3 separate regions of the Homo sapiens genome follow, and all the other regions are linked to region 2. Evidence: promoter capture Hi-C in 16 types of primary human blood cells and fetal thymus (Javierre and others, 2016). All regions are on one chromosome and are shown on one strand. Each heading gives the region's core, a stretch centred on a gene start or on the middle of the fragment in contact. The rest is flanking DNA. Distances are from core to core; before and after follow the strand shown. Region 1 overlaps ATIC (5-aminoimidazole-4-carboxamide ribonucleotide formyltransferase/IMP cyclohydrolase). Region 2 holds the start of SPAG16 (sperm associated antigen 16). Region 3 overlaps LOC124907975 (a long non-coding RNA gene).

Region 1 (4,840 bases), core at 916-3,415, 2.0 Mb before region 2:
AGCCTGGGCGAAAAGAGTGAAACTCTATCTCAAAAAAAAAAAAAAAAGGAAGCTGCCATCCTAATGGGGGAAGACAATTTGAACAGATTGAATAGAAACACATGCAGCAAAACAGGGTGATGGGATGAAAGCATGATGGGCTGCTACTTTGGTCTAAGCGGTCAAGGAAGGCTTCTCTGAGGAGGTGAGGCCTGAATAACAAGAAACCAGGACGGTGAAGGGCAGAGGGAAGAATTCTGGGTGAAGGGGACAAGGAGCCAGAGGCGCTGGAGTGGAAAGAGCTGGGCCCACTTGGAGGCACAGGGCGGAGGGGCTAGCAGCAGGCGCAGGGAGAGCTGCTGAGGGGGCAGATAGGAGGCAGGCAGGCAGCACAGGGTTTGTGGGGCAGGGCAAAGTGCTTAAGAAAAGCCAAGGAATGGCTTTAAGTAGGGTCTGACATCATCCGATTTCCATTTTTAAAAGATTACTGTGCTGTGAAGCCCAGAAAGGCCGAGAGAAAACAAATTACTTAGATTACTTCAGCCTACAGGACTTCACAGGGTGTCTGTGGGGATTTGGGAAGTGTTAGTGTCAAAGTGTATCTGAGATCTGAGGCCAGGTGTGGTGGCTCACGCCTGTAATCCCAGCACTCTGGGAGGCTGAGATAGGCAGATAACTTGAGGTCAGGAGTTTGAGACCAGCCTGGCCAACATGGTGAAACCCCATCTCTACTAAAAACAGAAAAACTAGCCAGGCATTGTGGTGCGCACCTGTAATCCCAGCTACTCAGGAGGCTGAGGCAGGAGAATCGCTTGAACCAGAGATTGCGCCACTGCACTCCAGCCTGGGTGACAGAGCGAGACTCCGTTGTCTTAATTTAAAAAAAAAAAAAAAAAATCTATCTGAGGCAGAACAATAGAACGCGGCAAACGTGAAGAAACTTTCAGATTCTCCTCCCACCTGGCACGCTGCTCCCCTCCCCCATCGCTCTCTCAGCTGATGACAGGGAAAGGAAGCCCAGGCTGCACCCCCTCACCAAATGCTGACCGCCCCAGGCAGGAAGGAGGCTGCCCTTGCTCTCAGCCAAGGCCAGCTGCACCGGTAGTGCTTGGGATTCCAAGGCCTCCATGCCTGGGACTCTCACCTCTGTCCCTGCCCCTACTCTCCCTTGTACCAGAGCAGGACAGGCTCTCACAGCCTACCTTTGGAACAGAACAGGACACACATTTAAAAACCCTCTCTAAACTCTACAAACCCAGAGAAAGTCCTACTTTCTTGTTCCAAGAAACCTCTTTATCGTTGTTAGTTCTTAACATCACATTTCTGCTTTGGCCTACTTCAATTGGGCTTCTAGATCCAATATTCCAAGGCAACGGCTTCTTACAATATGTGCAAAACAAACAGTCCCTTTTCTGTTCTCAAATGCATTCTAAAAGGTTGGAATTTCACAACTTTTCTTCTGCTGGTTCCTCCACAGTACACCTACCAAGCCTTTACCCCAAGGCTTTCTTGACCCTCTTCTCTATAAAATCCAGGCCATCCCATCCTGTCTCATGTCTTCAAAAAGATCTACGTGGCAGAGACATTCCAATCTCCATCTCCCCCATGACATCTTTTCAGAACTCCAGACTACTCAACTTCTGTGCTCTTCAGTCCAAATGGCGTCTCAAACCAGATGGTTATCAGATGGCTACAGGAGGCATTACGGAATGTATCATCTTCTGAATGTGAACCACATCAGATGCAATACAGAGAAACACACACTCTCCAGGCACAGCAAACCATGCCACAGAACGCTCGGGCTTTACCTGTGATGGGAAGCTTGGGCTGCAGTGTGTACAGCTGGGCAGGGGTCTGATGTGGGTTCATTCCATATCTCAAGGGCATCTGAGATACGCCTTTGCTGTACTGTTTCCTGAAATAATCTGAAATTGCTTCATCATATTGTGCCGTATGAGTGAATGCCTACAAAAAGCGTAAGTTTTGTGAGACACGAGCAGCACTTTCCAAAGTGGGGACAAGATGGTTTTCTACGTCCACAGCAAACAACATCTCCTCACTATTCAGTGCTATGTGGTGGCTGCACAACACGATGACACCATGAATGACAGCAAAGCACTGAATGGCCCAACAAATTACCCCTTTCCAATTCTTTTTCAATCTTTTTTTTTTTTTTTGAGACAAAGTCTCACTCTGCTGCCCAGGCTAGAGTGCAGTGGTGTGATGTCAGCTTACTGCAACTTCCACCTCCTGGGTTCAAGCGATTCTCCTGCCTCAGTCTCCCGAGTAGCTGGGATTACAGGCGTACCACACCACACCACACTCGGCTAATTTTTGTATTTTCAGTAGAGACAGGGTTTCACCACATTGGCCAGGCTGGTCTCAAACTCCTGACCTCAGGTGATCCGCCCGCCTCGGCCTCCCAAAGTGCTAGGATTACAGGCGTGAGCCACCGCGCCCAGCTCTCTTTCAATCTTTTTGACAGAACACCTCTGTAATAGCTGGTTTCTCCATTTTTAACAAAAGGATAGCAGCTCCAAGCAAAGCTTTGGTAGGTAATGCAATCTACCAAGAACTGAATACTGCTTGGTCTGGCAAACACTGCACTCCATGGATGTAACTTACAATATCATGAAAGTGCATCCCACCTTCAAGGCTAACTGGCGTCTAGTCTCCAAGGAGGTGTCCTTACTCTCGGAGCTCTGCATCTCCGTGGACACCACCACATAGTCCTCTGGTTCACACACCACTGTCACTCGAGCGTGGTTTTTGGCTGCAGCTCTCAGTAAGGTTACTCCACCTTTGAAGAACAAAAGACTTATTGATTTTTGTATGTCCCTATCAGCTTATGAACCGCTTTTAAATAAAGTCATTGTGCATGTACTTCCATTTTAATTCCTGACTTAAAAATCAGGAAAATAAGCTGGGCGCAGTGGCTCATGCCTGGAATCCCAGCACTTTGGGAGGCTGAGGCAGGTGGATCACCTGAGGTCAGGAGTTCGAGACCACTCTGGCCAACATGGCGAAATTCCATCTCTATAAAAAATACAAAAAAAATTAGCCAGGCGTGGTGGTGTGCACCTGTAATCCCAGCTACTCAGGAGGCTGAGGCAAGAGAATCACTTGAGCCCAGGAGGCAGAGGTTGCAGTCAGCCAAAACTGTGCCACTGTACTCCAGCCTGGGTGACACAGCAAGACTTCATCTCAAAAAAATAAAAATAAAATAAATAAATAAATAAATCAGGAAAATAACCCAGATGCATCTCTGCATACAAAAAAAGCTTAGAAAATATAAATGAAAAAAAGAAAATATAAATGAATTATAGTAATCCCAAAACACAATCCAGAAGTAGCTATTTTCTTTCTATTTCCTCAGTAATAAAATTCAAAATGAAATCTCACTAAAATTTAAATAATCCTCTCCTCTCAGTCTTCTAAAATGGTTTTTCTGACTTACCAATGTCAATTTGCTCCACAGCCTCCTCAACAGTTACACCTGGAGAAGCCACTGTCTTTACAAAGGGATAGAGATTGCAGGCAACAACTCTATAAAACAAAGACGAATCTGGCTGTCATTAAAAAGTCCACTCATGTGGTTTACAGCTATCTAGGAAAAAAACAAGTCAGTACTATTAACGTAAACAAAAGCCATAGAGAACTAATATATAAACTGTGAGCCTGACATTTTAGAATTCTAACGAGTGTGTTAAAAAGTCAGGGTGTCCTGCTGGGGTCGAGCAGAGGTAATTTAGTCAGCAGGTGCTCCCCGGATCTGAATACACAGTACTCCCTCCACGTCACACTGCAACGCTGCTGCTTGCATAACCTTAGCTACCCAGAACCACCAAGCCATGAAAAATTTATAGAACATTTTAATAGAAGTATAAAGTACAAGATTACAGATAACATTCTCATTTTGGAATGTGATCACTATTATCCAGAACATTAGAATTTAGATTCTTTTTCCAGTGGATTGGCACAATGATGAAAAATATCAGAGCATTCTAAGGGTGAAACATTTGTTTTGCCTTCAGAGAGGTCATAAAAATGATGGTAACAGGAATGCCAAAAGAATAATTTAAAATACAGAAGTAATCTAAAATTAACAATCAGTGAAGTACAGTTCCACTCCTAGGCCTGTAGTGCGAGGAGCTCTACGGGCAGGCTCCAAACAAGCCTAACTGCTGAAAACTAATTAAAAAAAACAAAAACAAAAACAGAAGAACAGAATTGGAGGGGAAACATTTTGCAGCTCATCTTTATTAAGTCTACTGCCCTCCTACTAAAACCAGACAAATGTCACAAGAAAACTAGAGACCAGTATCTCTTAGGTATCTTCACACAAAAACTCTCAACAAAACACTAACAAACTGAATCCAGAAAAATGCAAAAACCACCTGATCATCTCAATAGATGTACAAAAAGGATCTGACACAATTCAACAGGTATTCATATAGAAACACTCAGCAAATTAAAAATAGAAGGGAACTTACTGAACATGACAAAGTGTAAGAAAAACCCACAGCTAACATCATACTTGATGGTGAAAGACTAAAATACTTGTCTACTCAACTCAGAAACAAGACAAGAGGCCAGGCGCAGTGGCTCATGCCTATAATCCCAGCACTTTGGGAGGCTGAGCCAGGCAGATCACCTGAGGTCAGAAGTTCGAGACCAGCGTGGCCAATATGGTAAAACCCCATCTCTACTAAAAATACAAAAATTAGCCGGGCAAGGTGGCGCACGCCTGCAATCCCAGCACTTTGGGAGGCTCAGGAGGATGGATCAACTGAGGTTGGAAGTTCAAGACCAGCCTGACCAACATGGAGAAACCCCATCTCTACTAAAAATACAAAATTAG
Region 2 (4,528 bases), core at 1,551-4,050:
TCAACCTTCTTTCTAGGTTCTGGAGATACCTACTTGACCCTTTACATATCTATCACATAGCTAAAATCTCACCTTATAGTTTATAATGCTGCAAGTATTTTTCTAATGATGGGTTCTAGAGAGGATTCATATACTCCATAACTCAATTTCTTAGTGTTCTGACAATAGCTAAGAACAATGTATATTTGTATCTCACCTTGTTGAAGTCTAAAACATAAAAGCAATGATATTCTGGGTTCCTTAGAAGAGAAATAGGTGGCACTGTTACAGCTAGGAGATTACAGGGAAAGGGTGTTGCAGGGTAAGAACTCTTTTTCCTGAACCCAGTGTGTAAACCATTATAAAGGACATGGGACCTTCATTAATGTCCCCCACAAGATGGATCCTGGCTGTTTCTGGTTTGGACATTAGTCTATTCATACTCTTCATAATTGAGTATTTAAAAGCAGAAAAGTGGGAGATTTCCTAAAGAATTCAAGTCAACTTCTTTCAAAGTCTTGCTCGATATTGATAGCTCATTGTCTAATGTACTAGGAGCATCTGTTGAGTGATAAATAAGGGAAATCCAGGCCAAATGCAGTAGATTAGAAGTGATTGAGTATATGTGCGAAGCAGAGGACATCAGATTTCTGATTCATCTGTGCATATTATAACTTTTATTTACCCACCATGATAGCTCAATTAAATTACCTGAAAGCAAAGACTTTAAACCAAAGGAAGTCTCACTTTGGCAACTATCATAATTGCCTTAAGAAACAATGTCAAACAACATTACACAGGCAACTCTTAATTAACCATGTGAAGAGTGCCCAGGGATACAGGAATAATTGGTATTCACAAGTAATCCTCAAACTTCATTTCAACTGAGAGTTGAAATGACTAAACCTCTTCCCTCAGCATGGAATATAGCAAAATAAACTGGTTAAATGTTTAACTGTGTATCCCCTGACTACCATTTGGTTAAAATACAAAATAGCAGTCAGTCAACCAAAGAAAGAAGAAAAGCAAATGGGTTGGATAATTCACACAACGGTTAGTAAAATCCTAAAAAGTTACAGTTGCTTATATGTGTTAAAGTTCAAATAAGTGTGATTATTTGAAAAAGTCTTTGTAAGACAGGTTTGCAAACTGCTACATCTTGGCAGGTGTGACTCAGTGATCTCCCTGCACATTAAGTAAACCTGATTTTCATTGCTGAAAGTTGTGTTATGTTAGACTCCTACCATTTATTTCACAAAGATGTTTGCAAAAAGTTACCTCATTGTGTCAATCTCATGTTAACAATTAAACTATGTGTTCACGGAAATAATTTTAATGCAAACAAAATTACAAGATGCCTGGTTACCATTCAGTAGCAAGGGCACTGGATATAGATAAGCTTAGGAAGAATTATGAAAATCGTTGTTAAAGAGGAATATCACTGGAAAAGACTGCCTGTTACATCTACGAAAACAGTATAAAACCTCATTTATGACACTAAAGCACCCATATATTTCTTTCAAATTCATTTCAAGCGATTCAAATTTCTATTCCTGTAAAAGTCGTTTTTGCACCCAATAAAATACTACATATTTTCTTTAATCTTTCAGCTAAATTCTTCAAAGCTCTCTGTAGTGTGGATGTGTACTGAGCCTGAGTCAGGACAGGTTAATCGGCTTGTCAAAGCTCACGAAATGAATCATTGCTGGATTTCTGAAATCTTGAATTAAACCTGGAGAGGATTACAGTTGGACAAACAAATAAGATTTGGCAGATTTTGGAGTTTCCTTGGTATCTTTAAGAACTGAACAGATAATCATCTCTTTCTTACCTCCCTGAATAAAGGAGTTACATGTCTTTTTCTCATGAACCCTCCCCGTCTCCCTAGTAGGAATTAATCTATATAACTAGAGGAAAGAAGTTCTAAAGCCTTACACAAGAAATAGTGGACCTAATTATCCACACATTGTTATTCAATTTTTCTGGTACTTCCGATAAAAATCGCTAATCACCATCTGCTTTATTCCTAATATCTCTGAGCTGTGTAGCTCACCAGATCATTATTTATTTGCTCAAGAAAAAAAAGCAACTATACTATTAGTATTTATTATTAAGTAGTCAAACTTGGAACTACTCAGGAAGATAATGCTATCAAAACTAAGCATTTAAGCATTAACTGGACCATCGAACAGGATCGTGGGTTGGGTATTCTGAGCTTCAGCTCCTTAAAGTCCAATGGCAGAGGTCTTTCCCTAGTCTCCTAACGTTCCTCCGTTGAATTTATTGGGACGGCTTTCTGAAAGATTGAGGGCTTATTTAGGAAACCCATTATTTGAAAGGAGGGTTGAAGCAATTTGTTGTGCTGTCTTAACATAAAAAGCAACCCTCCATCCAAAATGTACTGAGTGGTTACTAAGTATGAGGCCTTGGAAGGTCTCCCAACTCTTCTAACAGGTACAGGACACCCTGGGCTACTAAGGGCGAGAAATTCAGTGAGTGGCTCTCAGGAAGACTGTGGTGGCAAAAACAGCACCTTGAAGTCCAACAGAGGCTCCTCCGGAGTGGCCCCAAGGCTCAAAAGGCGCCGCCAGTGGGAGGCCCTCGCCTTCGTCCCAACACCCATTACCCGCCAGCGCAGCGGGCCGCGCCTCCACGGGAAGGATACGTTCCAGGTAGTAGGCGCCCTCAGCCGCCACCGCGTCCGCCGTGTCCCTCGCGTCCCCGGCTGCCGTCAAACCCATGCCCAACGCCTCTTCCAGGACCCTCACGGCGGAGCTGGGCATCCCTCGCTGAGCAGCCATCTCTGGCGCTTCGGGCCCCCACCCCCAGCAGGCCCACAGCCGTCCCTAAGGGCAACAGCGAAGACGCTACCCAACGGCCCCCGGGAGCTCTCGCGAGATTCCGGCATCTCTCACCCCGCCCCACGGACCAGCCCCGGGCACGTAAGGGTTACCGGGAGTCCAGGGAGCTGTCGCCCTCCCGCGCCTCCCAGTTACCGTGGCAACGATGTTGCCTAGTTAACGCGAGAGCTCGGGCGCAGCTCTGGGAGCGGACAAGATACAGTAAACAATTGGCTTGCATTGCACCTTCCTACCCAAGCAGCTTGGTTTTCTTTCGCTTTGACCCTGTAATTTCTTTCCCACTTCGTTGTCGTCTCTGAATTACCTTTCTCTTGATTCTTGCCCATTAGCATCCTCCAATTTCAGATGTTTGTAGATCCCCAAGTGTTCCCAGGGAAAACTACTAGAAAAGGTGAGTTCTCAACACCTGGAATTTTTTAAAAAATGAAAAAATAAAGTTCTAGAAATCATAATAGAAAGACTGACCCAGGGGAGCTACCAGACGCTCCTCAGATGCTTAGCAATGAAGAACTATGGTGTTCAGCTTTGTCAATTCCTTTCTTGTGATCTTTAATGCATTTAGCTGGACATCTGTTTTGAGTTTGGTTCCATATACTAAGACTTGGAATAGTATTTGTAGCATTGATTCTCGCCAAGGTAAAAACAGTTGCATAAAAATTATGAGCTACAAATTTGGTCCTGACAAATGTATGCAGTTGACACTTGCCCCATCATGTATAGTCTTATTGCTGAGAGGATCTTCCTCAGGTTATATCGCGTATGTATCAGAAGCAAATTCAAGGCCCTTTTCTTTGCAAATATTTTTTTTTCCCTTAACTTTTATTTTAGGTTCAGGGGTACAAGTGCAGGTAAGCTCATGTCGCAGGGGTTTGGTATATAACTTATTTCGTCACCCAGGTACTAAGTGTAGTACCCAATAGTTATTTTTTCTGATCTTCTCCCTCCTCCCACTCTCCTCCTCAAGTAGGCCCCAGTGTCTGTTGTTCCTTCTTTGTGTCCATTTGTTCTCATTATTTAGCTCCCACTTACAACTAAGAACATGCAGTATTTGGTTTTCTGTTCCTGCATTAGTTTGCTAAGGATAATGGCCTCCAGCTGCATTCATGTCCCTGAGAGGACATGATCTCATTCTTCTGTGGCTGCATAGTATTCCATGGTATATGTGTACCACATTTTCTTTATCCAGTCCGTTGATGGGCATTTAGGTTGAATCCATGTCTTTATCATGAATATCAATGAACACGCATGTACATGTGTTTTTATGGTAGAACAATTTCTGTTTCTTTGGGTATATACCCAGTAATGGGATTGCTAGGGCAAATGGTATTATTTTTCATTCTACATTTCTTGGTGAAAACTGGAAGCCAGTGATCCTATAAAAGCTCCCATTTATTACCAAAAGGTAGCAGTAACTTCCTAAGGAGGTGTTTGAGAGTACGTGTGTCAGAGCCAGAGAGACAGCTTTCAGAGCCTGCTTCCATCACTTACTAGCTATGACACATTGGGCAAACTACTACTTAATGCCTCTAGGCCCCAGTTTCATCATTTGTAGAACAAAGACAACAATATTACCTACCTCAAAGTGCTGTTGCAAGGGGTAAAGCAACAAAAAGCATTAAGAACTTACTGGGAACATAGAAGACACTAAGAAATGTTAGCTGTTATTTCTATTAAATGTGTTTGATATT
Region 3 (4,558 bases), core at 351-2,850, 2.0 Mb before region 2:
AAAGAGGTTATCTATGTGAGACGATTCAAAATAGGTAAAATTAGCAGCATGCAGGGATCAGTGACATATAGGAAATATTAGACACAAAAAACTAGGGATGATTCCATCATTTCTAGCTTCGTCATATGAGTAGCTGGTGAGGCAACACCCAAAATATAAAAATATATGTAAGAGAAAGAACAGTTGTGGCATGTGTTTATTTTAATTTAAGGTCAGTGTGAGTGGTTGGGTAAATAAGTTTGAGTTTCTAAATATTGATTTTAAAGTCTAGGTAATTGGTGCACACAGTTAAAATCATACAGCAAATTGTTGGAAATACAAATGAAATTCAGGAATAAAAGTGAGGTTAAAGATAAATAAACGTGGAAAATTAATGAAATTCAAGTAGTAGTTGAAGCCTGGAAGAAGATAAGCTTGCTTAATTAGGTCTAGTAGATAACCCGAGCGACAAAAAAAGCTAAAGAAAGAAAATTCATTCAGGAAGGCATTTAATGTTTTTTGGTTTTTTGAGACTGAGTCTTGCTCTGTCACCTAGGCTGGAGTGCAGTGACGCGATCTGGGCTCACTGCAACCTCTGCCTCCTGGGTTCAAGCAATTCTCCTGCCGAGTAGCTGGGATTACAGGTGCATGCCACCACGCCCGGCTAATTTTTGTATTTTTAGTAGAGACAGGGTTTCACCATGTTGGCCAGGCTGGTCTTGAATTCCTGACCTCAAGCGATCTACCCATCTCGGCCTCCAAAAGTACTGGTATTACAGGCATGAGCCACTGTGGACCACAGGTGAAGAGACACTTTATCCTTTTGGATAAAATAAAGCAGAGAAGAGGGACAGGGCAGAGGTAGCTGCACCTTTAGGAAGGCCTGGCAGAGAATTTCTTACTGACAAGGTACATTTGAGTGAGGACTGGAGGGCTGGGTGGGGGATAACAAGCCACAGGGTATTTGAAGGAGAAAGTTCCAGGCAGTGGGAACAAGTGCAAAGGCCGTGCATAGGGAGTGTGGCTGTAGTGTCTAAGGAATGTCAGGAAGGGTGGTATGGTAGCAACAGAGGGAACTTCACTAGGAGAAGGAAGACACAATGTCAGCAATCGGGTTGGATAAGGCCGTGTGGGCACATCGTAAAGACTTCGGCTTTTATTCTGAATGAGAAAGGAAGCCCTTGGAGAGTTTTGGGAAGGAGTGACATCTAATTTACCTCTTTCACACACTCACTCTGGTTGTATGAGAGCAAAGGTGGAACAGGGGAATCCCTACGAAAGCTCTCACAATGATCCAGGACCTTGACACTAGGTGAAAGATGAGGGTGGCACGGCCCAGAGTGGCAGCAGTGGACATTGGAGGAGGTAATTAAATCCCAGATATATTTTGAAGGAAGAGCCAATAAGATTTGTTGACAAATTGGATGCCAAGTTTGAGAGGAAGAGAAGGAGCATTGATGATCGCTTGTACAGCTGGAAGAATAAAGTTGACATCAGCTGAAATTGGGAAGGATACAAATGTAGTAGCCCTGGGGGGAAGAACAGGGTTAAGTGTAGGACACTGGATACCTATGATACTGTGTGTCAAATACTGCCAGCAGGTTAAGTCTGATGAGGACTGAGAGTAACCATTAGATGTTGGATTATCCTGACAAGGACACATTTGGGGAAGTGGTAGAGATGAGGGTCTGGCTGGAGTAGGTTCAAGAGAGAATGAGGGGGCTGGGCATGGTGGCTCACACCTGTAATCCCAGCACTTTGAGAGGCTGAGGTGGGCGGATCATTGATGTCAGGAGCTTGAGACCAGCCTAGCCAACATGGTGAAACCCGTCCCTACTAAAAATACAAAAATTACCTGGGTGTGGTGGGGCGCACCTGTAATCCCAGTTACTTGGGAGACTGAGGCACGAGAATCACTTGCATCTGGAAGACTGAGGTTGCAGTGATCCATTGCACTCCAGCCTGGGCAACAAAGCAAGACTCTATCTCAAAAAAAAAAAAATGAGACACAAAGAGGGAAGGAATTGGAGATGTGGAATAAAGATGACACTTTTAAGGAGTTTTGCTCTTAAACAGGGTTTGTCAACCTCAAAACTATAGACATTTTGGAGCGGATAATGCTTTATTGTGTGTGTGTGGCGGGGGGAATGGGGGGTGTGTCGTGAGCATTTCAGGATGTTTAGTAGTATCCAAGCCTTCTACCACTAGATACCAGTAGCACCCCTACTCCAGTTGTGACAACCAGAAGTGTCTCCAGACATTGCCAAATGTCTCCTGTGGGAAAAATTGCCCCCAGATGAGAACCACTACTCTAAAAGGAGAGTAGAGGAATAGGGTGGTAGCTGGTGGTACAAGTGGGTCCAGGGAGCTTATTGACATTTTGTTTTTGTTTTTTTTGATATAGGGTCTCACTCTGTTGCCCAGGCTGGAGTGCAGTGGTACCATCACAGTTCACTGCAGCCTCGACCTCCTGGACTCAAGATCCTCCTTCCTCAGCCTAGCAAGTAGTTGGAACTACAGATGCACGCCATCACATCTGGCTAATTTTTTGTAAAGACTAGGTGTCACTATGTTACTCTGGGCTTAAGTGAGCCTCCTGCTTTCAGCCTCCCAAAATGTTTGGATAACAGGTGTGAGCCACCACACTCAGCCTTGTTTTTTCTTAATCTGAAAGAATAATCACATTTGTTTGTCCATAACACTGATCGATTCAGTAGTGAAGAGGGAAATCTGATAATGCAAGACAGAAGCAAGTCTTATTATAGAGGGATCTACTTAGGGACTGTGGGTGGGGAGGGAAAAGCTTCTTCAAGGAAATAATTTTTTCTTTTTTTAGACAAAGTTTCACTCTTTTGCCCAGGCTGGATGCAGTGGTGCGACCTCAGCTCACTGCAACCTTCACCTACTGGGTTCAAGCGATTCTCCCACCTCAGCCTCCCAAAAAGCGGGGAGTACAGACGTGTACCATCACACCCAGCTAATTTTTGTATTTTTAATAGAGACAGAGTTTATCCATGTTGGCCAGGCTGGTCTCGAACTCCTGGACTCAAGTGATCCAGCCACCTCAGCCTCCCAAAGTGCTGGGATTATAGGTGTGAGCCACAGCACCTGGCCTCTGCCTCTTATTTTAGATTACTTATGTCAACCACTTAACTCCAGTCTCTATCATATCTCACACTTGGCTGAATAGCCACCATCAGCATTAATAGTTGTTACAGCTTTCTCAGCACCTGGACTCCTACTACCAATGTTTCTACGAATAAAATGTCAGAATGAATCCAAGAACAAATAGATCTTATGTTACCTCTGTCTCTAAAGGCTTTCTTGATTGCTGTATCCTCCATGTGGTGGATTGATTGTTTCCCCTTTTTTGATGCAGGAGCTTATTTAATTGTAACACCTGTAGCATTGAATTTCACTCATTTGTCTGTTTCCTTTCTTCCTTTTTTTTTTTGAGACGGAGTCTCGCTCTGTCACCCAGGCTGGAGTGCAATAGCATGATCTCGGCTCACTGCAAGCTCTGCCTCCTGGGTTCATGCCATTCTCCTGCCTCAGCCTCCCGAGTAGCTGGGACTACAGGCACCCACCACCACGCCAGGCTAATTTTTTGTATTTTCAGTAGAGACAGGGTTTCACCATGTTAGCCAGGATGGTCTCGATCTCCTGACCTCGTGATCCACCCAACTCGGCCTCCCAAAGTGCTGGGATTACAGGTGTGAGCCACTGCACCCGGCCCCTTTTTTTCTTTTTTTAATGTTAAACAGATAATGTGCCAATGTCCTGATGTTGTAACAAGGTTGTTTTTTGTTTGTTTGTTGTTGTTTTTGAGACAGAGACTTGCTCTGTTGCCCAGACTGGAGTGCAGTGACACAATCTCTGCTCACTGCAACCTCAGTCTCCTGGGTTCAAGTGATTCTTGTGCCTCAGCCTCCCAAGTAGCTGGGATTGTGGGTGCAGGCCACCATGGCTGGCTGATTTTTGTATTTTTAGTAGAGATGGGTTTCGCTATGTTGGCCAGGCTGGTCTCGAACTGCTGGCCTCAAGAAATCCACCCATCTTGGCCTCCCAAAGTGCTGGGATTACAGATGTGAGCCACCATTGTAACAGGGTTTGAGGAAGGTATTTCTCACAGATGCATGTGAAAACCCAAACTTCATGCTTATGAACTGCAAAAGGATCACACTCATTTCTTTTTAAGCTGTCTGCCCCTTCACGCTGAACCCCTCTTTATGGGCAGGGACTACATTTTTTTTCTCTGTGCTTATCTGAGTGCCTAATAAAATAACTAGTAGATAACACACCAACTATAAACACTTAAAAGATCTATCTCTACTACTCTCTACTCTTAGTACCCATCACCTCCAATTCATGGACACAGACATTCATTCACAGAGATTTGGGGACCTGGTTCACAGTGTTTGTGTTCTACTTCAACTCCTACATTATTTTGGTAAGGTCAATATCCCCATCAATGGCTCATTGAATATCCTTGCATTTCGATTCTCTGATTCCAAGAATGAGGAAGATACCCTAAATACTTTACATCAATACCAATGTGTGGGTGTTAATGCCTTAGAAC

The links. Contacts are between HindIII fragments. The CHiCAGO score rates a contact against its expected background, and 5 or more counts as called.
Region 1: a fragment that was not itself captured here is called in contact with the fragment with the promoter of SPAG16 in region 2 in 8 of 17 cell types (naive CD8 T cells, total CD8 T cells, activated CD4 T cells and 5 more); the score reaches 20.5 in naive CD8 T cells.
Region 3: a fragment that was not itself captured here is called in contact with the fragment with the promoter of SPAG16 in region 2 in 11 of 17 cell types (naive CD8 T cells, total CD8 T cells, total CD4 T cells and 8 more); the score reaches 32.2 in naive CD8 T cells.

The regions. Positions count from the first base shown.
Region 1 is chr2:215,323,926-215,328,765 of GRCh38, reverse strand. It overlaps ATIC (5-aminoimidazole-4-carboxamide ribonucleotide formyltransferase/IMP cyclohydrolase), which reads right to left. Exons shown (of 16, transcript NM_004044.7): 5 at 3,437-3,525; 6 at 2,628-2,779; 7 at 1,788-1,944. Among named protein-coding and RNA genes, the nearest start is that of ATIC, 14 kb to the right of the region's middle. The HindIII fragment of the contact is 725 bases long and covers 1,803-2,527 here.
Region 2 is chr2:213,282,736-213,287,263 of GRCh38, reverse strand. It overlaps SPAG16 (sperm associated antigen 16), which reads right to left and starts at 2,800. Exons shown (of 16, transcript NM_024532.5): 1 at 2,645-2,800. The coding sequence starts at 2,780. SPAG16-DT (SPAG16 divergent transcript) reads left to right here and starts at 3,055. Exons shown (of 3, transcript NR_161186.1): 1 at 3,055-3,231. RefSeq lists enhancers at 2,398-2,477, 2,548-2,597, 2,638-2,767. The HindIII fragment of the contact is 3,357 bases long and covers 1,381-4,528 here.
Region 3 is chr2:215,302,365-215,306,922 of GRCh38, reverse strand. It overlaps LOC124907975 (a long non-coding RNA gene), which reads left to right. Exons shown (of 2, transcript XR_007088075.1): 2 at 2,384-3,264. LOC124906184 (small nucleolar RNA U13) reads right to left here and starts at 4,157; the gene lies at 4,059-4,157. The HindIII fragment of the contact is 2,369 bases long and covers 416-2,784 here.